Linked DNA regions of Homo sapiens: all the other regions are linked to region 1. Evidence: promoter capture Hi-C in 16 types of primary human blood cells and fetal thymus (Javierre and others, 2016). All regions are on one chromosome and are shown on one strand. Each heading gives the region's core, a stretch centred on a gene start or on the middle of the fragment in contact. The rest is flanking DNA. Distances are from core to core; before and after follow the strand shown. Region 1 holds the start of CRNN (cornulin). Region 2 has its middle 18 kb from the start of TCHHL1. Region 3 holds the start of TCHHL1 (trichohyalin like 1). Region 4 has its middle 17 kb from the start of TCHH. Region 5 has its middle 11 kb from the start of RPTN. Region 6 holds the start of LCE2C (late cornified envelope 2C).

Region 1 (4,196 bases), core at 808-3,307:
CATTAATGTTTTGCAGTAACTGAGGCATCTTTGAAGTCAACCTGGAAAAGATGAAAAGTTCCCTTGGAGGCTCCATAATCAACCTCAGCTATTTCCTTTATAGCACGTCTGCTGCTAGGTCTTTCCTTGCACGTTCAGCTCTGTTTTTAGTTTTCCTTTGTCCTTTCCTACATAATGCATCTTATGTATGGGAAGGAGGAGCACACAGGATGGAGGCAGGTTCCTGAGTCAGGATTAAATGCTGGCCCCACCACTTAAGTATGGTGTGAGCTGGGACAAGTTGCTTTGCCTCTCCATGCCTCAGTTTACTACTCATTGTAATTGAAGGTGATATTAGTACTCTGTGGGATTATTGTGAAGATTTAAAGACATAATTCATAAAAAGCACTTGGCAGATGCCTGGCTTATATTAAGTGCTCCTTATTAAATATAATTATTATGCTATTATATACATATACACACATATAATTTTTGTACACCTATATAATCACTTTCCTGTACATCATCTCTTCTAATCCTTATTATTTCCACTTTTTTTTATAGGTGAGGAAACAGGCTCAGAGAAGTTAGGCCACACAATTTTTAAGGAGCCAAGAAATCCTAGGATCCATTTTTCCTTAACCCAAATGCAATGGGCTTTCTAGAATGTACCCTGTGGACAGGATTTATTTATTTATCACAAGGGTGTTAGGGTCCCATCGGGAACACCAAAAGGAAGTAAATACATCTGTGAGTCAACCCCTGTCTTGGATGGGAGCCAAGCAGAAATTCCAGGGACACAGCCCTCCCTTCTTGTTTTTTTTGGGAAAGTGGGAAGAAACTGGGCTACCACCTGCTGGGAATGCTCAGGAGGGGGGAACCTTCTTTGGGTGGGAGGCCTTCCAGTTCTGAGGGTCCAAGTTTCTCTGCATGTCGCCTCTGTCCACAGCCCTGAGACTTATCAGAGAAGTCAGCTTGCCCAACAGGCACGTGGCTCCATCAGGCCCAGATTTCTGGTGACCTATGAGTTGGTTCCTAATCAAAGGGAAAGCTTTTCTTTTTCATTAGCCAGAAATCTAGAGGTAGGTTGAGGTGAGGCCTGGGTTTGGTTGCATGAGCAAAAGGAAAAGAGACTTGAAGATTCATTAAGCAGAAGCCTTGGAGAGACCCAAAGGAGGAGATGGTATCAAAGATGACAAGTCTCAAATGCAAGGGGAGATGGAGCCTGTAGCAGCTGGAAAGCCAGAGAGAGGATGGGACGAGGCAGATATAGGTAGGAGAAGAAAGAGAAAAAAGGAAGGAAGGAGACTTGAGTTCTAGAAAAAGCAGATTAGTGTGGCCATGAGGACTCAGTAAGTCATAGCAAAAGGTGGGCTGTTCAGGAGAAACCCTTTCTAGGACCTGGTAACCAACAATTTCAGGCAAACTTTTCATCAAGGTAAAAAACTGGGGATGTTTTCCTCAACATAGATGAAAAATATCTTTCTTTTTTTTTAAAACCATGTAGCAGACTTTAACCACTGACCTTTAGATAATAAAATAATAAGATGACCTTTTAGTTACATTTTAGATTCCTTAGAAAAATCTACACATATTTTGCCTAAATATCACCCTGGTGTAGGAGAGGGGAATCATGTAAACCCCTTCATCCATGACACAGTTTGATCTTATTGTCTAGGTTGGCATAAGTAAACTGATTCTGATCCCATAGACTCTCAGCACTGCAAAGAAGCTTCCAGAGCCTTAGAAAAAAGAAACCTTTGCTGATCCAGGAAGGCACATGGGTGGCCCCATAGCCGCTGCCCACACAGTTTCCCAGTGAGAGGAGCTGCTCCCAGGCCAGCCTCAGGGAGGAGGAGAAAGCCTGATTGCTTCAGGAGAGCATGTTTCCCAACGGTAGCGTTGGTTTGCCCAGTGCTCACAGCTAGCTCTGAAGGATGCATAGTCCATACCTGACTGCCCCAGTTTTATGAGCTCAGATCACCAAGACACTGAGAATGAGAAAGAGGTTTCTTATGAGGGGACTTACCTAATGCCCAGGTGGGATGAAACAAGTGGCTGTTAAGTGGTGTGAGGAGTACCAGGTCAGTGTGATGAGAACCTTTTATAGGGGTTTTAACCAAGGCTCTTGTTTTAGACAGGATATCCTGCCCTATGGGAAGGCTTGATTCATCCAAGATCCAGCCCAGCCCAGCCACACCTCCTCTTGTCTCTGTTTTACCTGCTGATGTGTGACTGCCTTGGTCTAATTAACAGGCCCCTCCTACCACATTTGGTACCTTCTGTAGCTGAGTCCTCTTGACAGGGAAGCTTCTTTCCATTGTGATGGGCTCAGCAGTGCTTGGTACAGGCTGGGGTCCTGGTGAACATTCTTTGTCTCTATGAGCCTACAAAGTTATGGGACTCTTTCCTTTTTTTTTTTTTTTTTTTTTTGAGATGGAGTCCTGCTCTGTCGCCCAGGCTGGAGTGCAGTGGTGCGATCTTGGCTCACTGCAACCTCCGCCTCCTGGGTTCAAGCAATTCCCTGCCTCAGACTCCTGAGTAGCTGGGATTACAGGTGCCTGCCACCATGCCCAGTTAATTTTTGTATTTTTAGTAGAGACAGGGTTTCACCATGTTGAACAGGCTGATCTTGAACTCCTGACCTCATGATTCACCTGCCTCTGCCTCCCAAAGTGCTGGGATTATAGGTGTGAGCCACCGTGCCTGGCCACTGTTTCCTTTTTTAATATAAATGTTCAAGAATATATCTATTGAGGTTAACTTTTACAAAGTAGCCACTCTGAGAGGGCACACATGTTTTTGTGGTGATGTTACTTAGAACTGTTATTACTTAGAACATTTTTTGAATTCTTGTTTTGTAAGTGCCTTTCACACCTAGTGTATGAGACACAAGAAAGCCAGTTTCATCTCTTTAAAGTTGGTCTCATTTTTAATTAAAACAAAAAAAGTTAATACCTTCCCCACCCCATGCTATGGGTAGGTAGCATTTTGTAGCTGATGAGAAAAAAGGCTTACCATGATCATGTGGTAACTCCTCATTGCAAGGACAGGAAACTCAACTGGTGGCTAATCAGCAAATATTTATGGAAAGCTTGCTCCATTTCAGGCAGAGGGCTAAGGCCCTAGGAATACAGTGTTGAATACGATGGCAGCAGTTTCAACTCTCATGAAGTCTATAGCCTGGCCATCCCAGGGGTAAGTCCCCAAGAGGTTAATGATAATGGTATTGCCATTTCATTTCATTTGATTTTATTCCATTTTCATTACCATCTCATCTTATTTGATCTCCCTAGCAATCCTCTGAGGTGGTATGGCTAAGCCCAATTCATAAATGAGAACACTGAGAAATCCTCAGAGAAGTAGCCACTCTGTGAAGCGGAGACGGTGCTGGACTAGAGCCCCTCAGACTCCAGGCCTGTGTTCTCTCTGTTGCACCATGCTGCCATTTATTCTTCTCTCATTGAGTTTTGGCACCTTATGAACATCACACTTATCCTCAATGCATGAAGAACCATTCCTGAGGAGGAAGTTTTCTGAGCTCAGAAGCCAAGTCCCAAAGAGTGCTCTTGAGTGGCACTTTGCAGATAATATATACTGTGTAGCTTCCTGAGTGACTCTGGAAGGGAAAGCCATCTTTACCATCCTCACTTATAGATCAGCATGCAACAGACAGGAAAGGGAACAACAGGATAGGAAGGCATGGTAAGGGCCTTGGTTGAAGAGACTGGTGTATTGAGGGCAGCCCTGTAGCAACAGCACAGCCTCCAGCACTTCCCCTCAGGGCACAGAGCACTGGGGAGTTCCAGACTGCAGGAGGGCAGGATGCAGGCTTTGTGTTTGGAGAGATCTGTCTACATGGGGACAGGTTGGCTCCAGTCCTGGGGTGAAGGTGGGGTAGGCATACCAGCCAGGGAAAAGCAGAGTAGGGGCTTCAACCTTTGGGAGCAAGAGGGGGCTGAGGTTGCTTCTGCCTGATCAGAGTTAGAAGAAGGCCAGTATGAGAGGGTGAAGTTGGAGAACAAGAGGGAGAGCCGATTAGACCTTCTTCTGTGGTGGTGTTTGAAGCTTTTTCTGATGGGGCTTAGAACTTCCAGAAAGGTTTGGGAACTGAGGGTAAGTTAGGGAAGTAACAAGCCAGAGGCTGTATCTAGAAGATGAATATTTGGTAGGTATTATTAACCCAATTTATAGATGAAGAAACCAAGGCACAGAGA
Region 2 (4,196 bases), core at 941-3,440, 340 kb before region 1:
GAGAGGATCTGTGGGCTGCAGAGTTGGCGGTCTGTTGAAACGTCACTGCTTGAAAGTTAAAAACCATTTTCAATTTCACCAGCTTATAAATAGTTTCTTTGTTTCTGAAGAAATTATGTATGGGTGGATGTACTCTAACATAATCCTTTATGATACTAAAAATAATTCCCACTCACCTTTTAAAAATTTATCAATTTTTATTTTAAGTTCTGGGGTACATGTGCAGGATGTGCAGGTTTGTTACATAGGTAAACGTGTGCCATGGTGGTTGGCTGCACAGATCAACCCATCACCGAGATATTAAGCCCAGCACCCATTGGCTACTCTTCCTGATGCTCTCCCTCCCACAGCTCCCCCTCCACCCACGTTTACTGCAGACATTCTGTAGGATTCTCTTAGAGATAGCCGGTTCTATCATCTTGTTAATGGCTATGAGGTGAGCAGTACTGGAGAAATCTTTAATAGCCTGTGGATATGACAAAGAGTTTGAAGAGCTATAAAATCAGATAAGTGAATACAGGCAAATGTATTTCCTGAGGAGCATGGTAGCTCTTTTTTTTTTGCTGCTCACCCTGATTTTGAGAATAGCTCCACAAGGAGACACCTTTCCTGTGTGGGGGGATACTGGGGCCATAGGCTACTGCTATTTCCCAAAGCAAAACAAGCCTGGATCCTAAATCTTTTTTACATCTAATTTGGTTTGTTTGTTTTTAAGTCTCCCACATGACTTCTAAAATTGTATGTAATAAAGACACTTTGAGCTTTTCCTGATGTCTGTAATAAAAATATAAAATGTCTTCTCTTCAGTTTCTCTCCTGAACATCCCCATGGCCCTGGGGAGTTTATTTTTCTAGAATGTCTAAAGTGTATTATTTATTCAAAACAAAACAAAACAAAACAAAATAGTTTCTATGAGGAAATATTCTAGATACTTGACTCAATAATATTTCATTATTTTTGAATTTGTGTAGGAAACTCTTTCTTGCCCGTATTCAGACAGCCCAAGGCATGGGTGACTACTGAAGGAGGAGGAGGCAGGTCTTTCTCCCTGTGTGTCTAAAGGGCAGGAGCCTGATGAACTGGCTCCGTGTGGTCATTAGTTGCCGTTAGAGTGATTAATAAGAGTAACAGAGATAATTATAATTCTTGCTTTGAAAAGCCTTGCTTTTGAGAGGAATTATCCTTGTGCAAATGTCTCCCCACCCTCTTGGTAAATCGTCTTTGGCAGCCAGACCTGTAGCTTCTGGGTTTGCCTGTGGTCTCCGGGCTGCTGTTGCTGACACACCTGGTCTGCTGCCCGTCTCTCCTGAGTTTGGCTCATCTGATTCCTGGGCCTTCTTGCTTTTCTCCACTCTTTCTCATTTTCTGATGGTCTCTCTCTGTTCTCTTTTCCGTCTTCCTTTTGTCTTCCCCCCTTTCAACATTTCAATCTCTTTCTGTTTCTCATTGTCCCTTTCTTTGTGTGCCTTTTCTTACCTCTGTCTCTTCTACCTCTCTATTCCCACCCCATTTGTTTCAGACCTGAAGTCTCCATTCAGTTTGATCTTCCCTTTCGTTCTTTTACCTAAAAATTTATTAGTTTCTATCAGGGAAAATAAAAGACAAGTAGATTGAAAATGAATGCATCCAGTTCTTGCTATGAGAAGGGAAAGAGACGCTTACTGTGTGTCCACACCAGGCGATAGCCTGCCATAGTCACACAATGGGGAGGCCTGCTTGGTGCCAGGGCCCATGCTTACCACCCACACTGCCTGTACAAACAGGACATTTTCTGACCCAGAGTCCATGTGCAATGGTGACAGAATGACTTCTGTGGTGACACTCTTCTGATGACGTGGTCTTTGCCCCTCAGCGTCAAGGTTTGTCTTGACACTGCCTGGGAGGAGTTTCCTGGAAAGTGTCCACAGCCATGATTACAGATAAGAGGAGACTGCCAGAGTCATTTGAAGGCATCAAGTTGTCTGTAGGAGAAGCTTGGTGATTGGAGGAGTTGCTGCTGGGGTGGCTATCCTGAGTGCACATTTGGACTTTGCCTGCTCTGTGACCTCAGGCATCTTACCAAATCCCTCTGAGCCTCAGCAGTGGGATCTAGTGGTCACCATTTCTTGGATGTGTCATAAGGATACGGTGTGGCTCAGGGAAGCACTGGATTATAATGTGTTTTAAGCTCATTCTGAAGAAAAGCACCGTGCAAATCCCAGTTATTATGTTTATTATGAGGTTCAGCATGATTAAATGCAAAGAATTTGTTCCATCTGAATGAGGCTTTTAAAAATACACTGGGGCCAGTAATTACAGAAATGTAGGCTCCCCTAAACATGTTCCCAATTAGGAAGGGATGTAACTGAATGAACTGGGGCATGGCGGGGGACTCTCAGATCCTTGACATGTTCTTGGTCAGCTCAGTCAAGCTTTTCTTGATCAGAAAATGGAAAAAAGCAGAAAATTCTCATCCCTTGTGTCTTTCTTAGAAGAAGATAATAAACCCAGTGGCCAAAGAATGTTAACATTTAACTGATTTTCCTTATGTATCAGGACCTTTTTCTGAAACTATGATTGTTAAGGATTTTAAGTAAGACCCAAATCAGTATGGGGTATGATTTTCTTGTTTGTGATTAAAACATATGGAAGTAATTATAGATCTCAAAGTAATTTTTATTTATACACAAATAATACATACGTTCCTGATCCTTGAAAAAATTGAAACATTACTTGATGACATCTAAGACTTCTTTGACTACTACTGTCTCTCCTGATTCCCTTTTACTTTTCTCAGAGGCAATGACCATTATCAGTTTGGTGTTTTTCTTTCTGAGCTTTTCCGTCTTTAGAAGTAGAGAAAACCAAGGTGGACATGGTACGCAAGTCTCCACATGGTTTTCTTCTGTGGTTTAGCCTCATCTCCTGGGCCAGATCATATGCTTCTTGAGACCAGAAACCACATGAACTCCTTGATCTGATTCCACACCACTCCCAGGCCTGGAATAGAATCATGGAGAAGTGAGGGGAATGGTGAGGAACAGTTAACTAAACGCTTGTTTGAGAAAAATTATTGTCCTGCAGTTTACTCAAATAGAGCTAGTAACTCGGCTGGGCAAGTTTCAGATTCTGTGTTTCAAAACCACCTCAACCCACCCAGTGGAAACCAGAATATTCTCATGGCTTTACAAAAACGCCTGAGCTTTAAGCTTGATCTAAAGGGCTCAGCAAAGAAGCATTGCTCCTGAGAGGCTTCCTGTCTGCCTCAAGCTCCCTGTCTCAGCCTCCAGGTAGCCTCATCCTCATGCTCCACTTGCCCAGACATGGACCTCAAAGAAACTCCTGTCCACCTTCTTGGGGGTCCCTTCAGGGGTAGTTGTGTGTCATCAGCCACCCTCAGAGTTGGCTCTGAAACATTCCCCGGTTTCTCCTTCAGTGGTTTGTGGAGGTCAGGAAGAAATGCATGTGATATTTTCTGAAGGTTCTGGACAATCCTAATGTTGTCATGAAGCCTGCTGGCCCCTTTAGGCAACATACACACCCAGACATATATCGATAGTGATGGAAGAATTCCATCTTTTCTTCAAATTCTCTTCTCTATTTTTACTTTCTTTCCTTAAAATGGTGCCTAGGATGGGTCCTTGTGGAAAGGACAGTGCTGGGGTTGCAACTCCTATCTCAGTGCTTTGACAAGCCCTCAAGAAATAAGGTTTATGGCTGTTTTTAGGAGACTCCATCACAGGCCCTCCTCACCATCCAGGCTTCTCTCCTGTTTGCCCATATCTGGAATAGGACTGACTGTACTCCTGGCTCTCTGAGCACCACACCCTCTCGCCTGCCTCCATGCCTTTGTTAATGCTGGTCCTTTCGGCCTGAGAGGAACCAGGCCCATCCCTGCTGGCCAAGCTCCATCTTCTCCTGGGAGCCTTCCCTGGTGACTTGGTTGGGTCCACACTTCGCTGACCTCCTCTTTTCCCACTGTCACCATCATTGCTTATGACATTCCTACCATACTATCCTCCTTGTTGTTCCTTGAATGTGCTAGGCATGCCCATCTCCAGGCCTTAGTACGTGCCGTTTCCTCTGTGAAGTGCTCTTTTCTGAAGTGCATGGTTTCCTTTCTCACCTTCTGCAGGTCTCTGTTCGGGTGTCATCTGACCTTCCTCTCTTAAACAGCAACACTCCCACTTCCCCTGACTCCCTCCCTACCCTCCTAC
Region 3 (4,196 bases), core at 1,119-3,618, 330 kb before region 1:
CTCCTACAGACTGCTTCTCAAGTGGTGCTAAATCTTGTGTTCTTTCTCTTGCCCCCAGTGTCCTTTCTGCTGCAGGTGCGTTTTTGCTGTTCACAAATGCTTCTGCTGTGCCTTCTTTGGTGTGTTCTGCCTCTTCTCCTGAGACTGCTGTTCCTTCAAGTTCAGGGTGAGTCTGATCTCCTCCTTCTGAGCTTAGATATTGTGTCTCAGAACCTTTTTCAGCATCTTTTGATTTTGATAATCCTTGGAGTTCCTGATACTTCCCATCCTGTGTTTGGGTTTCCAGGACTAGTGGCCGAGTTTTTCTGTCACGTTCTTTCTGCCCTGCTGTTCCATGGGCCTCAGGACCTCTCCTCTCTTTCCTTTCATCTCTCATGTCAGATGTTTCTGAACCATTTCTGCTACCATATTGGACTGGCAGGTCCTTTGTTTCACATTCTTTTTCTTGGGTCTCAGATGTTCTGCCATAATCCTCAGGTTCACCCAAATTCTTTGTTTTAGCTGGTGTCTGGTCAGCATCCTTTCCTGGTTCTTGAGTGTCAAACATTCTACAGACATCCTTGGAATCAGTTGATTTCTGTGTCTGAGATGGTGACCTGGCAGCAGCTTGTTCTGGCAGGTCAGCATGCTGTGAACTGGGCTCATCTTCTCTTTGTAGGGGTGGTTCTTGTATATTAGAGTGTTTTTCCTTTTCTGTTCTAACTTCCTGATCTTCACATGGTCTTTGTGTTGCTTCTTTTGGTGGTGAACTTTGGGTTGCCAAGTTTCCTTCCTGTTCTCCAAACTGGTCTCTTATCTTGGAAACACTTTGCTCTCTGGCTGGTTCATCTCCTTCCTGGGAGATCTCCTTATCTTGTCCCTTCCTCTCTGTGGGACTGCTGGTCTTTTTTGATCCTGCCATTGGCTTATTTGTCTTAAGTTGGCCTTCATTGTCTTCTGTTGTTTGTATATCTTGAGCCACTTCCTGACTTTGTTCATCTCCTTCCAGGTGTTTGTTCTTAGGATCATTGTGTTCAGATGCTTCTCCTGGAAAGTTGTGAGTCTTGGCTTCTCTCCATGGGTCCACTCTGTTATTTCCAACTGCTCCACTTTCTTCAGGGATGAGCTGAGATGATGATGCCATTCCTGAAGGAAGCATCCTCTTTTCTTGAGTTGGTGAAGTTCCCACTGTCCACTGACCATCTCCGGTGGTTGCCTGAACATCCACATCATCTAGCTTCTCCTTCTCTGGTTTAGTCACCTGTCTTAGTTCAGAACTTAGTAATGATTTTATGTCAAGATAACAGAGGTTCAACAAGTTGAAGATTGCAAGAACAAATTCATCAAAACTGATGATGCCATTACTGTCAATATTCAGAAGATTTGAATTTTTTTCCACAGCATGAAGGACACAGGGCTGCATGAAAACACAGTGAGAAATCAGCTTATTTATATGTGGTCCAGTGTCCTAAGTGTCTCCCAAGAATCCTATTTTTCTGACCTCATTCCTCAGTAACTGGTTAACTTTCCCAGAACAGCAAGAACTTATTGGTTCTGCAAGCCATTTTTCATCAGAGAGCTATGCCTGAGAAAGAGCATTTACAACACTTGTGAGTTGCATTTTGATGCATAATGGTTTATGACTCCTTTCAGAAGTCAGCTTTGCAGAAGCAATAATCCCAGTGACGAAAACCTCTTTTTCTCTAAGTAATTGCACAGAGTATGGAACTGAGACTGAAAATAGTTGTTCAAGAGACAGTGAGTGCTGAGAACTGTTAGCTAGGTGTAAAATGGATGGGGATCACATATGCTCATCTTGCTTGGATTATAAAGAAAGGGTGAGTTGGAAAGAATTTACACAGCTCTGTGAGAAGCTCACCTGAAAAAAGTCCCCAAACTCGCCCTGGATGAGTTGTTTCAGCTCTCTGCCAGTCAGTGTTGCCCCGTTACTGTCCTCACTGGCATATTTGTGGAATGTCTCAATTACACAGAGGACATTTCTCAGGAGCTGAGGCATCTTTACAAACTCAGGAGAGGCTGTGAGAAAGAATAAACAAAGCTCATTTTCCAGGATGGGTCCTTCAGGGAGGAGATACCAAGATTATCCTTTTTGTTCCTCCCCCATCTCCACTGCAACCCCTGCTCTATTCTGTATCTTAAAATATTATATCTGAACTCCAGGGGTGATTTAGTATTGTACCAGACATTGTGGTGAAATCAGACCCAGCATAGGTAAGTATTAGAAGAGACAATTCACCCCACTCTTCAGTAAACAGCAACATTCATGTGCTCAGAGAAAGCTTCATTGCAAAAGGAAGGTGATAAGAGAACTCAAGCATAAGGATTGAAATGCATAAATGAAGCCAATAGAGTTGGACCCATTCTTCCAGCCTCATCCAAGAGTGTCTATCTGCTCTCCTCTCCCTTTGGCTCAGTCTAGCCTCCTGCGGTTAGGAGGGTATAACCTTTAAAGTTAGCAAAGCTTCTAGTGGAAAGATAAGTCACACCAAGAAAATTAACCCCTATGTTTGCAGGTGGTAACAACATGCTTTAACCAAGAAGACATGATTCCATGTCCCGACCCCTTATTCATTCATTTCCCATCCTTTAAATGCTTCTACATTTTCATTGCAATAGAGATCTGATCCTGTGCCTTGTTGAATAATATTCATGCCTATGACTTCTAAACAATTTATGTTTTTTTTAAAAAGAAAATGATCAAAGAAGTTCCATAATCAAGGAATGCATTTGGGTGGTTGGCGCTCCCAGTTTATTATTATTAATAGGGGTTGACATAGACTTAAAGTGTGTTTCCTTTGAAATCCTCTTGCAATCTCACATATAAGCAAAACAGCAACTGAAATCCCAAGTATGCTCAAGCAGATGGACTTACCTAGTTCACAAGCGAGAGCAGGTAGAACGTGGGGCAGCGGGCTGTGAGCTGACAGCAGGAGCTGGAACCTTTTATTGAGGTCCTAATTGCACAGTTAAGAAGGAGACACCCTCTGGGTCTAATGACCTGACATCACCACCAAATCCAGTCTCCCCTGCTCTGTTGTCAGTTGTCTTAATTTTATTTCCTTCTTTAGGCAGTTTCAATTAAATCTTAGCTTCAGATGCATCAAAAGAAAGGGGAGGGGGTTTCTTGATTCATTTACTGACTTTTGCAGATTATAGTTTTGAAGGCTCTTCAAGGTAGTGTTGGCTTCCCTCCCCCATTTTTTAACCTAAGGACATAATTACATTTCTGTCTGACAAATCATAGTGCTGGCAGGGACCTCATAAGTCATCTGATTCCTCTGTCTGCCCACAAGATGGCCCGTATTTGACCCAAACCTGAGAGATGGGTGTCAATCATGTGTTTAAAAATAAAGGCCCCCATTTAGCCATGTGACAAAAGTGGAGATACCAGTTGATTCAGATGTTTCAATGCTTTGCTCTCCTTGCCCAGAGGCAGAGTTAGAAAAAAAAAAAAATTCTTGCTTGGTGTGCAAAGCCTTGCTTACCTATGTTGTGCTATTTTAAAAACGTGATTGATATTTGCTTTCTAAAGACATTTTTACTATACAAGGAGCTTGAAACCAATAATCTATATTACTGTGTTCTCCCTGTAAAGGGGAAAGGGAGATGTTGAAATCATCAAGCTGAGAACAGAAGTGAGTCTGAGATGCTGAACTGGCAAACATTTTAATTGTCTCCTAGATCTGGGTCCTTCTTAGTAGAGAATATTTAATAAAATAAGAATTAGATTCAATGGTTTTCTTAGATATTTTTAAAAAATAGAGTATGTTTTAAAACACTCCTTGTCAAAGGATGGAAGAAATAGACAGATCAATGCAAACAAATATAAAAGACACAGACCAAGTTAAAGATGGGGTGGGAATGGGGGTAATTATATGAGAAAGCTGAAGCTAAGGGATGCATTGCTATTGAGCAAAAACCTTATTCTGAATTTCCTGATTATCGAGGAACATACAAGGGAACTAAATTTTGGGGAAAAACATTCATACTGATACTTTACACCTACAAACAATTTCTCAGCATCCTCCCAAAGGGAGAAGACTTCTGGGAATTGGAATTGGCATGTGAAGGTCATCTTAGTTCTGATTAGTTAATATCCCCAGAGTACCAGCTATTTCTCAACACTATGCCAGGAACTGGAGTGTTTAGAGTTGAGTAAGTTATATCTTCCTGCTCTGGAGCTCATGGGCCAGTCT
Region 4 (4,196 bases), core at 508-3,007, 280 kb before region 1:
GAGATCATGAAGGACTTTATGAGCAAAGGTAAAGAAGGTAGATTTTATCCCACAGGCTATGGAGAACAATTATAGGATATTAGGCAGGAGATGATGACATAATCAGATTTGCATTTTAGAAAGGTCTTTGTAGCAGTAGCATTGAGAATGGGTTGATGGAGGGCAAGGTAGGGTACAGTGAAGTCACTTAGGAATCCTTTGTAGTAAAATAGGTGAGAAATGGAGGGTTGAACTAAGATATTTGCAGTTGGGCTGAGAAAAAAGCATTTGAATTGGAAATCTTTAAGAAATAGAAACCCACAGGGATTGCTGACATATTGGATATAGAAGGTAACGAAGAGGAAATAATTGGGAAGTCTGGGGTTTTGGCTCGAGCAGCTGGGAAGACAGTAGGATTGTATACAGGTAGAAGGATATAGAAGGAGGTGTTCAATTTTGTGCATATTGAGTTTAAGATGCTTGTGAGACACTTTGGTAAAGGGATCCAGGAGGTAGTAGGATATCTAGATCTGAAACTAAGGAGAGAAATCTGGGCTGGAGATATAGATTTGGAAGCCATTAGGAGGAATGTGATAAGAAGATGAGATTGACCAGAGGAAGTGTGTAGGTCAGTGGTTCTCACCTTTAGCTGTGTGTTAGAACCACCTGGGGAACTTCTAAAAATCCAGATTTCCAAGGTCACACCACCGACCTATAAAATTAGAATTTCTAGGAATAGAACCCAAGCACCAGTGTTTCAGAACTCTCCAGATGATAAAGTGGCAGTGAGAGTTGAGAAGCACTCGATTGAAAGGAGCAGGAAATGCCTCATTAAAGGTGACTAAATGAGGGAGAAGCATAAGACATTTCCAGAGGGATAGGAGAGCCTAGAGAGAAGGTAGCATTACTGACACTAAGGGTGTGAGAAGTCAAGAAGAAAGCAATGAGCAGTGCTCTTCTAATCAATCTTCAGTTACTCCTTAACATGGCTCTTTCCTGTAGCCACCTATTCTGTTTGCTTTTTCCTGCCTTTAACTTGGTAGATGCTCATCTGTGTCTCTGCTCAAACTACTCCTGATGCTTAGGATTCCTGCCCTTCTTGAGGATGTCAATCCACATTTAGCCCATACTTAAGGTTTGGCTCAAAATCTCCTCCTCTAAGAAATATCTGATCAATTTTACCCAATTCTAATTACTCTCCTTTAGATACTCCCTTATGCATTTAGTTCTATGTAAAAAATGGCCCAGCTGTGAGACAGTGCCAAGAGTCCTGGACTTAGACTCTGAAGATTTGAGTTCAAGTCCTGGTTCTGCTACATGTTAATAAGCTGGAACATCTTGAGGAAGTCACTAAAGTGCATTAGTTTCTGTATCTATAAGATGTTCATAGCAATAACAACTTTTAAGGATTGATATGAGTTTTGAGAATGTAAAAAGCTACATATGTGGGAGAATGACATCAGCAAGATGGAAGAATAAGAGCTTCCAGCACTCATCTTCTCACAGACACCCATTGAACAATCATCCACACATGAAGATAACTTCTTAAAAGCTAAGGAATCCAAATTAGAGATTATAACACTTGGATGCAGTGCAGAAATAAGAAAAGACACATTGGAGAGGGTAGAAGGGACAGTTTCACATTAATCATGTCATCCCTTACCCAAGCCTGTGCAGCACTGTATGGAGAGATACCCTTCGTATGAGGGAAGGAGAATGAAAGGAGGAATTGACTTTGCCATGGACCTCAGTACCAGGGCAACCTCCATGGGCCCAAGGAGAAGTTTAGCCCCTGCAGACATAAACTCCAGGCTGGCTCTTGCAAACCCAAGCTCCAGGCCTGCCCAGTGCCAGGTCACTGCTTATGGAACCAGGCTCCAGACATGCTCCTTTATACCCAGGCACCAGATGCACCCCAGTGCTAGGCCAGCCCTCATGGTCCCAGACTCTCGGCTAAGCACCTACAGACTCAGGTTCCAGGCTGGTCCCCAGGAACCCAGGCTTCAGTCCTATCCCTGTGGACTCAGGTCAAAGACCTATGCCGGCACCAAGTCAGACGCAAAGGATCCAGGTTCCAGGCTGGCTTCTGCAAACATAGGTGCCAGACTTGCCCATGTGTATCCAAACTCTAGTCATGCCCTAGTGGATGCAGGCACCAGGACCCACATGCCCACTGACCCACACACCAGCGTAGCCCACCAGAGGACTCCAGCATTAAGCCTACCCAAGGACCCTGCCAGCTGGGTCACCCCAAATTTCTAGATGGGCTGACTGATGAAGAGCTTTCTCTGCAAAATCCAGTCTGCAAAGACTGAAAAAGGTGCCTAATTCTTCAAATGTGTGGACATTGACGCAAAGTCCACAGAGATCATGAATAATTGGGGAAACATGACACAACAACAGGAACAAAATAAGGCACTAACAAATAATCCCAAAGAAATGGAAATCTATTAACTGCCAGACAGTTCATAGATTTAAAAATAACCATGAGAATTAAAAAATGATTATCTTAAGCTCAGTGAGCTACAAAAGAACACAGATGGACAACTAAATGAAATTAGAAAAGTAACACATTAACAAAGTGAAAATTTTAGCAAAGAGATAGAAACCATGTATAAGACCCAAACAGAAATTCTGGAGCTAAGGAACACAATGATTGAGCTAAAAAATTCAATAGGAAATTTCAAAAGTAGAGTCAATCAAGCAGAAGAATTAGCAAGCCTGAAGACAAGTTATTTGAAATTACATAATCAGAGGAACAAAAAGAAAAATTAATAAAAAATGGTGAAGAAATCCTGTGCAACTTATAGGACACTATCAAGTGAGGCAATTTATCCATCATAGGATTCCCAGAAGGAGCAGATAAAGAGAATGGGAGAAGAAAGCCTATTTAAAGAAATAACAACAAGCCAGGCACAGTGGCTGATGCCTGTAATCCCAGCATTTTGGGAGGCCAAGGTAGGGGGATTGCCTGAGCTCAGGAGTTTGAGACCAGCCTGGGAAATGTGGTGAAACCCAGTCTCTATCAAACATACAAAAAATTAGCTGGGTGTGGTGGCATGGACCTGTAGTCCCAGCTACTTGGGAGGCTGAGGTGGGAAGATCACTTCAGCCTGAGAGGTGGAGGCTGCAGTGAGCCAGGATCACAGCACTGTACTCCAACCTGGGTGACAGAGTGAGACCTCATCTCAAAAAAAAAAAAAAAAAAAAGAAATAACAACAGAAAACTTCCCAAATCTGGGTAGGGAAATGACTATTCACATATATGAAGCCCAAACAACTCCAAACAGATTAAACATAAACAGATCTTCACTAAAACACATTGTAATAAAATCCTCAAAAGTTAGGCAAATAGACTTTTGAAAGCAGCAAGAGAAAGCAACTTACAAAGGAACTTCCTTAAGACTATCAGTACATTTCTCAGCAGAAATCTTATTGACCATGAGAGAATATGATGATATATTCAATGTGAAGAAAGAAAAAAAATTACTAACCAAGAATATCATGCCCAAAAAAAGCTGTCCTTCAGAAAGGAAGAAGCAGAAAATACTTTCTCAGACAAACAAATTTGAGGAACTTTATTACCACTAGACTTACCTTACAAAAAAGTTTAAGGGAGTTCTTCAAGTTGAAATTAAAGGACACTAACTAACAATAGGAAAACATATGAAAGTGTAAAACTTATTATAAAGGTAAGAATATAGTGAAATTCAGAATACTTTAATACAGTATTGGTGGTGCATAAATCACTTTTAACTCTAGTATAAAAAGTAAAAGACAAAAGTATTAAAAATAACTACAATAATTTTTAATGGATACACAATATGAAAAATGTGTTAATTGTGATATCAATAACATACAATTTTGAGGGAAAAGAAGTTAAAGTGTTGTTGTGTATGGTCAAAGTTGCTGTTGTAACTTAAAATAGAATGTTATGACTATAAGATATTTTATGTAAGCTTCATGATAATTACAGAAAACATACAGTAGATACACAAATGGTAAAAATAAAGGAATCAAGCATACTACTATAAAACACTATCAAATCACAAAAGAAGACAAGAAGAGAGAAGGGAGAAATAAGATAACTACAAAACAGACAGAAAACAATGAACAAGTGGCAAGAGTAAGTCATTACCTGTCAACACTTACTTTAAATTCTCCAATTAATATATGTAGACTGGCTGAAAGAATTTTTTTTTTTAAAACAAGATCCA
Region 5 (4,196 bases), core at 1,084-3,583, 270 kb before region 1:
CACAACCTGGGATCCTACAATTCAGGGAGGGCATTGGTGGTGCTGAGGGGAACCTAGCTACCATTTAGGGGTGTTTAGGGGCTTGTTGGTATGCAGTGCACAGGAAATCTGAGAGAGAAAAATGTTGGGTACTGTGTTTTGGGAGAAAGTGAGGTGAATGAAAGCAACATTACCCGTAGGATATGACAATGGGCATAGAATGGTGGTGCCGGGCATGGAGGAAAAGAGTCATGATGTGATGGAGAGAGTCTGTTCAGTTGAATTTGATTTGGCAAGCATCCACCAAATATTTACCTGAAATATTCTAGGTGATACAATGAATAAGGCATGAACCTTTTCTTGAAGAAACGTGTATTAGTTTTGTGTTGCTGTAAAGGAGTGCCTGAGACTGGGTAATTCATTTTAAAAAAGAGGCTTATTTGGCTCATGGTTCTGCAGGCTGTACAAGCAGCATGGTGCCAGCATCTACTCTCTTTCTGGTGAGACCCTCAGGAAGCTTACAATCATGGCAGAAGGCAAAGGGAGAACAGGTGCACCACATAGCAAGAGAGAGAGCAAGAGAAAGAGGAGGAGGTGCCAGTCTCCTTTAAACAACAGCTCTCACATGAAGTAACAGAATGAGAACTCATTCATTACCTGGGAGGGCACCAAGCCATTTATGAAGGATATGCTCCTGTGACCCAAACACCTCCCACTAGGCTTCACCTCCAACATTGGGGATCACATTTCAGCATGAAATTTGGAGGGGACAGACATCCAAATCATACCATTTTACCCCTAGCCCACCAAATCTTGTGTTCTTCTCACATTGAAAAATATAATCTTCTCTTCCCAACAGCCCCAGAAAGTCTTAACTCATTCCAATATCAAGTCCAAAGTCCAAAGTCTCTCATGAGACTCAAGACAAGTTCGTTTCACCTATGAGCTTGTAAGATACAAAACAAGTTATTTACTTCCAAGATATAATGGTGGCATAGGCATTGGGTAAACATTCCCACTCCTTGGCTGGGTGTGGTGGCTCATGTCTGTAATCCCAGCACTTTGGGAGGCCAAGACAGGCGGATCACAAGGTCAGGAGTTTGAGACCAGCCTGGCCAACATGATGAAACTCTGTCTCTACTAAAGATATAAAAAATTAGTTGGATGTGGTAGCGCTTGCCTTTAATCCCAGCAATTCAGGAGGCTGAGGCAGGAGAATTGCTTGAACCCAGGAGGTGGAGGTTGCAGTGAGCCAAGATCATGCCACCGCACTCCAGCCTGGGTGACAGGGTGAGACTCCATCTCAAAATAAACAAATAAACAAATAAATAAATAAATAAATAAATAAATAGATAAATAAAAATTCCCACTCCAAAAGGGAGAAATTGGCCCAAAAAAGGGGCAATAGGTCCCACAAAAGTCTGAAACCCAGTAGGGCAGGCATTAAACCCTAAAACTTCAAAATAATCCTTAACTCCATGCCCTACATCCAGGGCACACTGATGCAAAGGGTAGGCTCCCAAGGCCTGGGGCAGCTCTGCACCTGTGGCTTTGCAGAGTGCAGCCCCTGTGACTGCTCTTGTGGGTTAGAATTGAGTGCCTGTGGCTTTTCCAGGCTCAGAATGGAAGCTTCTGGTGGCTCCACCACTTTCAGGTCTGGAGGACAGTGGCCCCATTTCCCACAGCTCCACTAGGCAGTGCCCCAGTGCAGACTCTATGTTGGGGATCTCCAGCCCAATATTTCTCCTTGGATATTCTCTAGTAGAGTGTCTCTGTGGGGACTCTGCACCTCTGGCAAGCTTCTGCCTGGGCACTTGGGCTTTCCCATACATCCTCTGAAATCTAGGTGGAAGCTGCCAAGCCTCCTTAATGCTTGCATTCTGTGCACCTGCAGGCTTAACACCATGTGGACACCTCCAAGACTTATGGCTTGCACTCTCGGGAGCAGGGCCCAAGCTGTACCTGGGGCCCTTAGAGCCCCAGTTGGAGCCAGAGCAGCCTGAACGCAGGGAGCAGTGTCCTGAGGCTTCATGGCACAGCAGTGTCCTGGGCCTGGCCTTTGAAACCATTCTTTCCTCCTAGGCCTCTGGGCCTGTGATGGGAGGAGCTGTCCTGAAGACTTCTCAGATGCCTTTGGGACTTTTTTTCTCATGGTGTTGACTATTAGCAATTTATTTCCATTTAGGCATTCAAATCTGTTTAGCAAGTGGTTGCTCTGCAGCCTGCTCGGATTCCTCTCCTGAAAAGCCTCTTTCCTTCTGTACTACAGGGCCAGCTAGCAAATTTTCTGATTTTTTATGCTCTGATTTCCTTTTAATTACAAGTTCCTACTTTAAGTCACTTCTTTGCTCCCATATCTGATCATAGCCTGTTAGAAGCAGCCACACCATATCTTGAATGCTTTGCTGCTTAGAAATTTCTTCTACCAGATACCCTATGTCATCACTCTTAAGTTCATGCTTCCTTAGATCCCTAGCAGCCAAGCTCTTTGTAACAGTGTAACAAGGGTGACCTTTGCTCCAGTTCCCAAAAAGTTTCTCATTTCCATCTGAGACCTCATCAGCCTGGGCTTCACTGTTCATATTTCAATCAGTATTTTGGTCACAACCACTTAGCAAGTCTTGGAGAAGTTCCAAACTTTCCCTTATCTTCCTGTCTTTTTCTGAGACCTCCAAATTCTTCCAGTATCTGCCCATTACCCAGTTCCAAAGCTGTTTCCACATCTTCAGGTATCTTTATAGCAACACCCTACTCTCAGTACCAATTTTCTGTATTAGTACATTTTGCATTGTTATAAGAAATAATAAAAGACTGGGTAATTTATAAAGAAAGGAGGTTTATTTTGGATCATAGCTCTTCAGATTGTACAAGAAGTGTGATGCCAGCATCTACTTCTGGTGAAAGCATTAGGAAGCTTTTAGTCATGGTGGAAAGTGAAGGGCAAACAGGCATGTCACATGGCAGGAGAGAGAGCAAAAGAGAGAAGGAAGAGGTCCCAGGCTCTTTTAAACAACCAGATCTCACATGACCTCATGGAGTGAGAACTCACTCATTACCACAAGGACATCACCAAGACATTCATGAAGAATCTGCCCCTATGACCCAAATACCGCCCACTAGGCCCCACCTCCAACATTGGGGATCACACTTTAATGTGAGATTTGGAAGAGACACATACCCAAATCATATCAAAATGTATTTGTTAAGCTTCTATTAAAATAATGTAGGAGAAGAAAAGATAATGCATACCAAGTAAATGAACAAGGAGAGATCAGATTATAAATCACTTTTGTATATATCATCTGTATTTATCTCTAAGAAACTTTAGAATTTTTAAACTTTGGAATTTTTTCTTCAGCTTTTATTTTTAGCTTTAGAGGGTACATGTGTAAGTTTGTTACATAGACATATTGCGTGACAGTGAGGTTTGGGGTATGAATCCCATCATCCAGGTGTTGAGCTTAGTACCCAATAGGAAGTTTTTCAATGTACACTCATTTCCCTCCTTCCCCACTCTAGTGGTCCCCAGTGTATATTGTTCCCATCTTTATGTCCATGTGTACTCAGTGTTTAGCTCCCACTTATAAGTGAGAACATGTGGTATTTTGTTTTCTGTTTCTGCATTAATTTGCTTAGAATAATGGCCTGTAGCTGCATCCATATTGCTGCAAAGGACATGATTTTGTTCGTTTTTTATGGCTGTGTAGTATTCCATGGTGTATATGTACTATATTTTCTTTATCCAATCCACCATTGATAGGAATCTAGGTTGATTCCATGTCTTTGCTATTGTGAATAATGCTGCAATAAACATATAAGTGCATGTGTCTTTTTGGTAGAAGTCTTTATTTTCTTTTGGGTATGTACCCAGTAATGGGATATAGCTCTGTTTTAAGTTCTTTGAGAAATCTTCAAACTGCTTACCATGGTGGTTGAATTAATTTATATTCCAACAACAGTGTATAAGTATTCTCTTTTCTCCACAGCCTTGCCAGCATCAGTTATTTGTTGACTTTTTAATAATAGCCATTCTGACTGGTGTGAGATTGTATCTTATTGTGGTTTTGATTTGCATTTCTCTGATGATTAATGATGAGCATTTTTTCATGTTTGTTGGCTGGCTGCTTGTATGTTTTCTTTTGAAAAGTGTTTCTCAAGTCCTTTGCCCATTTTTTAATAGGGTTATTTGTTTTTCTCTTGTTGATTTAAGTTCCTTA
Region 6 (4,196 bases), core at 970-3,469, 260 kb after region 1:
TACTTCCTCACTTACCACATTGTTACAAATATCTTTGTCAAAGAGTATGAGGAAGCTGAGGGTGATATCACCATGAAGACAGTGGAATGAACTAACATGTTCTAATCACACTGGGAAATAGTGACTCAGGAGGTTCAGGCCCCAAACGTCATCTTCTTTGGACCTATGTTTGTCTGCAGTCATCTTCAAAAAGGCTACAAAAATTCTACAGTCCTTGAGGTCATGGGCTACTTATTATTCACCTCTATATCCCTATATTTGGACATACATGATTCAAGAACGTTGTAGGCTTTCAAAGAATGCCTTTTGAATTCACTGCTCTGACCACACTGTTGACTTACTTTATCCTTCAGGTAAAAGCTTCCTGAGAGCAGGAATCAGATCTGATAATAGGATTGCATAACTAGGAGAACAGAATCCCTCAGTTAGAAGCTGACAATGGGAAACTATGCTTTCTCCGCATCCTCCCCTCCCCCACTAAGTAGGCATTAGGCAATGTGAAGGCACAGTCTGTTTCTGTTTTAATCAGAGGTGTGAATATCTATTTTTTTCAATTCTAATTTTTAACACCTTTATTGAGATGTAATTAACATATTTGTAGTTCATTTGTTTAAAGTGTAAATTCAATGGTTTTCAGTATATTCACAGAGTTGGACAATCACCACCATAATTTTAGAACATTTTCATTACTTCACAAAGAAAACCTGTATCCATTGGCAGTAACTTCTCAATATCTCCCAGCCCGCTAAAGCACCTGGAAGCCACTGATATTTCTCAGAGGACAGGCATAAACATAAAAGGAGATACAGGGAACAGAATCTCATCCAGGCTCTTGTTCCTCGGATGCCCTGAGTCAGCTCTTCAGGGGTCCAGCCTGGGAGAGGCTGTAACTGGCTAAAGCCTCATCCCCTTTCTATTTCCAGAGATTTGCCTACTCTACACATTTCATATAAATAACATCATACAATATGCAGTCTTTTGTGACTGGCTTCTTTCACGTAGTGTAATGTTTTCAAGGTTCACACTCAATGTATCTGTTTAAACTAAATGAATAAATGACTGGGTAACTCTGTCTAGTGCAACCCTGAATCAGAACTCTGAATAACTAGATTCCTGGCTGACCCTCTACTTCCTGGTAGGAAAGGAGTTCCCTCTGCATAGGAGCCCCAAGAAATGATGTCTACTTCCCAAGACAGGTTTCAAATAATCTAAGTGTCTGGTGGAGTTAAGCTCTCTGAGGGTAAGGGCTCTATATGGGCAATTAATGACACATAAGACCGGGGCAAGTATCCAATACATGGCATTAGTTTTTCTATTAAACATATATTTATTAAGGGTCTATCAGGCACAAAATGTCATACTTAGCTCTTTCTTGCTTCTCACTTTATATTACAAACAGCTCAGTGAGATAGGTATATCTCACTGATAGGTTTATAATGGGCATTATATGTGAGAACTGATACTCACAGTGAGTATCATAGTAATACTCTAGCAATTATTGATAATTGTTACAGCAACTTTCAGAGATTACCCAGTTATCATATGCAAGTTTTCTGATTCCAGTAGCACATTCAATACAAGTCCTCTGACTGAAGGAAATGTTTAGATTTTAGAGGGAATTGTTTATTCTCAATCATTCTCCTTGCTTTAGGTGACAGAATCAACTCAGATTTAATCCACCGAATCTGCTTGCCATGGTGAGTCGGAGGAAAAGCAGAAACACAGAGGCCAGGAGGAAGGGCTGAGAGCCTAGGCAAGGGAGGGATGCCTAGAAAAAGCCAAGGCTGTAGAAGCCCTCTGGGATGGCTGGATCCACAGCAGGACATGGAAGAGAAACTGCTCAGGGTGGAGGGAGTCATAATGGAACATTTCCACAAGGTCAGGGAAAGCTGTGGCTCAGAACTGATGTTTCCTCAGAGGACATGCATTAAAAAAATGCAGGGAACAGAATCTTGTCCAGGTGTGGGTCCCTTGGGTACCCTAAGTTAACTCTTTAGGGTTCCCACCTGGTGGAGGCTCTGACTGGCTACAGCCTCTCTAGACTGCAGCCCCAGAGAGGAGTCCTGGAAGCTCCTGAGGCCTCTTTGGATTGCAGGGACTAAGAGGCAGGAGAATGTCAGGAATGACCCAGCGTGTGCCTGGTTGTGCAAGAGCCACCTCCTGCTCTTTCCAGAGCCAAGCCTGGGCCCTATAAAAGACACATCCAGCTTCAGCATCTCATCTGCTCTGACTCCCCAGGGACGTGTCTGTGCTCCTGCGTGTGACCAGGGTGAGTGGCAACCTGGGATACCAGAGGGGTATGAGCAAGGCAGAGGGATGGGGAGGATGGAGGTAGGCTGGAGAAAGAGTTGTGTGCTTGTGTTCTGCCATACTGAGCAGGAATGGGACTCAGCCTGCCTCGAATCTGTTGAGGCTCTGAGGCCTACCGGAGCTCATATAGGTGGGGAAAGCTAACTGTGCACATCTTTTCCAATTCTGTGTTCAGTGACTTCATGTTGGTAACTTCAAAACTGCTGTGTTGGGCATATTTACACCATGGAAACTGGCAAATACTTCAAGCCAGGCTCTTTTATCTGGAGGTTTCATTGCAAAATATTTTCCAGAGGACCCCTTGGTATGTCCTGCAACACCCAGCTTGTCCTTAGGGCTTGTATTAAAGGAATAGGTACTTCAGGGAGCTGTGAATACTCTATTCGGGCTTGTGAGGATAGAGCAATCGCAGTTTCCCCTGAAAGGAAGAGTAAGAAGCTCATTCTGTTGATTTTTTATCTACGTACTTTTATCTAGAGGAAAGATTCAAGTTGTTTCTTTCAGGTTACTGATGTGATTGTATTATCTAAATATCATTCTTCTTCTACACATGCATTGATTTTAGAAGAGGTATAATATGATCCTTGGTTTGAAATATTTAAAGAGTTTCATTATTATCTTTCAGGTTGACTAAACTCCTGCCAGCATGTCTTGCCAGCAAAACCAGCAGCAGTGCCAGCCCCCTCCCAAGTGTCCTCCCAAGTGTACCCCAAAATGTCCACCTAAGTGTCCCCCCAAATGCCCACCACAGTGCCCAGCTCCATGTTTCCCTGCAGTCTCTTCTTGCTGTGGTCCCAGCTCTGGGAGCTGCTGTGGTCCCAGCTCTGGGGGCTGCTGCAGCTCTGGGGCTGGTGGCTGCTCCCTGAGCCACCACAGGCCCCGTCTCTTCCACCGGCGCCGGCACCAGAGCCCCGACTGCTGTGAGAGTGAACCTTCTGGGGGCTCTGGCTGCTGCCACAGCTCTGGGGGCTGCTGCTGACCTGGGCTACAGAAGAGCTCTTGGGACTGAATGGCCAAGAACCTGCTACGGCCTGATGGATACTCTTTCCACTTCCTCTCATTCCATTCATTGGTTGGCAGAGACCACAAAGACTCATGGGGCTTTCCTGGAAGAACTTCGTGCTTGATGTAACACCCCAATTGCAAGTCTTCTTTTCCTCCTTTACCTCATGTTATAATAAAGCTCTGATCTCTGACTCACTAAATGTCTTGGTCATTCTCTTCTCTTCTGAGATTTCAAATGTCCTCCAAAGGTCAGGGCCTCAGAGTAATTTTCTTCATGAGGCTAGGACAGGACATGAGTAGGTGATACATGAAAAGCTGCTCTGAGGAACTGATTCCCCCAGATGCTGAGTGAATGGAGCTCCAAGAGGGTCACCTCTGGCTATGGTAGCTTTGCCTTTCTCTCCACTAAGCCAGACACATGTTCTAATTTTCTGTGTAATCCAGACGTTGGGAAGGTTGGGAAGCTCTGCAGACTTGTTCTTCTCTAGGGAGAAGAACACATCCCTATGAAGCAAAACTTTCCTGCCCTTAGAATCAATAGTTGGATAAAATGCTTGAAACAGATGTTGAGACCCTTCCTCCTGTAAAGTACAGCCCATGGTCACTCAGCTTCTTTTCATGAGTCTGGTTAAGATCAGCCTTTTGACTTGCTGCCTTGGACACCTGGCTTCAGTTCCTCACAGTGTTAGATCTGAGTCCCAGGATGCTGTCCTGCCACTTGGCTCACGTGCTGGGCAGGGGAGTGATGAGTGATGGAGATATTAAGTGAAAAAACATGGAAGTGTTGCTTAGAAGATACAAAGAATATAAGGAACATAAGAATACAAAGAATACAAAACGCTGTATGAAAGAATAGACCTTTCCTCCTTCAATACTTATCT

Evidence for each region. The method cuts DNA at HindIII sites, captures the fragments that hold promoters and counts their contacts. A CHiCAGO score of 5 or more calls a contact.
Region 2: a fragment that was not itself captured here is called in contact with the fragment with the promoter of CRNN in region 1 in 2 of 17 cell types (endothelial precursors and total CD4 T cells); the score reaches 6.2 in endothelial precursors.
Region 3: a fragment that was not itself captured here is called in contact with the fragment with the promoter of CRNN in region 1 in 11 of 17 cell types (erythroblasts, M1 macrophages, naive CD8 T cells and 8 more); the score reaches 7.8 in erythroblasts.
Region 4: a contact is called between a fragment that was not itself captured here and the fragment with the promoter of CRNN in region 1, in 1 of 17 cell types (M2 macrophages). The highest score is 5.3, in M2 macrophages.
Region 5: a contact is called between a fragment that was not itself captured here and the fragment with the promoter of CRNN in region 1, in 1 of 17 cell types (non-activated CD4 T cells). The highest score is 5.4, in non-activated CD4 T cells.
Region 6: the fragment with the promoter of LCE2C here is called in contact with the fragment with the promoter of CRNN in region 1 in 3 of 17 cell types (erythroblasts, neutrophils and M0 macrophages); the score reaches 5.6 in erythroblasts.

What each region holds. Positions count from the first base shown.
Region 1 is chr1:152,412,206-152,416,401 of GRCh38, forward strand. It overlaps CRNN (cornulin), which reads right to left and starts at 2,058. Exons shown (of 3, transcript NM_016190.3): 1 at 2,009-2,058; 2 at 1-41. The coding sequence starts at 28. The HindIII fragment of the contact is 578 bases long and covers 1,710-2,287 here.
Region 2 is chr1:152,069,377-152,073,572 of GRCh38, forward strand. No RefSeq gene overlaps it. Among named protein-coding and RNA genes, the nearest start is that of TCHHL1, 18 kb to the right of the region's middle. The HindIII fragment of the contact is 438 bases long and covers 1,972-2,409 here.
Region 3 is chr1:152,086,148-152,090,343 of GRCh38, forward strand. TCHHL1 (trichohyalin like 1) reads right to left here and starts at 2,917. Exons shown (of 3, transcript NM_001008536.2): 1 at 2,873-2,917; 2 at 1,859-2,016; 3 at 1-1,396. The coding sequence starts at 1,996. The HindIII fragment of the contact is 182 bases long and covers 2,278-2,459 here.
Region 4 is chr1:152,130,306-152,134,501 of GRCh38, forward strand. No RefSeq gene overlaps it. Among named protein-coding and RNA genes, the nearest start is that of TCHH, 17 kb to the left of the region's middle. The HindIII fragment of the contact is 4,357 bases long and covers 1-3,936 here.
Region 5 is chr1:152,146,202-152,150,397 of GRCh38, forward strand. No RefSeq gene overlaps it. Among named protein-coding and RNA genes, the nearest start is that of RPTN, 11 kb to the right of the region's middle. The HindIII fragment of the contact is 1,115 bases long and covers 1,777-2,891 here.
Region 6 is chr1:152,673,060-152,677,255 of GRCh38, forward strand. LCE2C (late cornified envelope 2C) reads left to right here and starts at 2,220. Exons shown (of 2, transcript NM_178429.5): 1 at 2,220-2,269; 2 at 2,936-3,510. The coding sequence starts at 2,957. The coding sequence ends at 3,289. The HindIII fragment of the contact is 8,836 bases long and covers 359-4,196 here.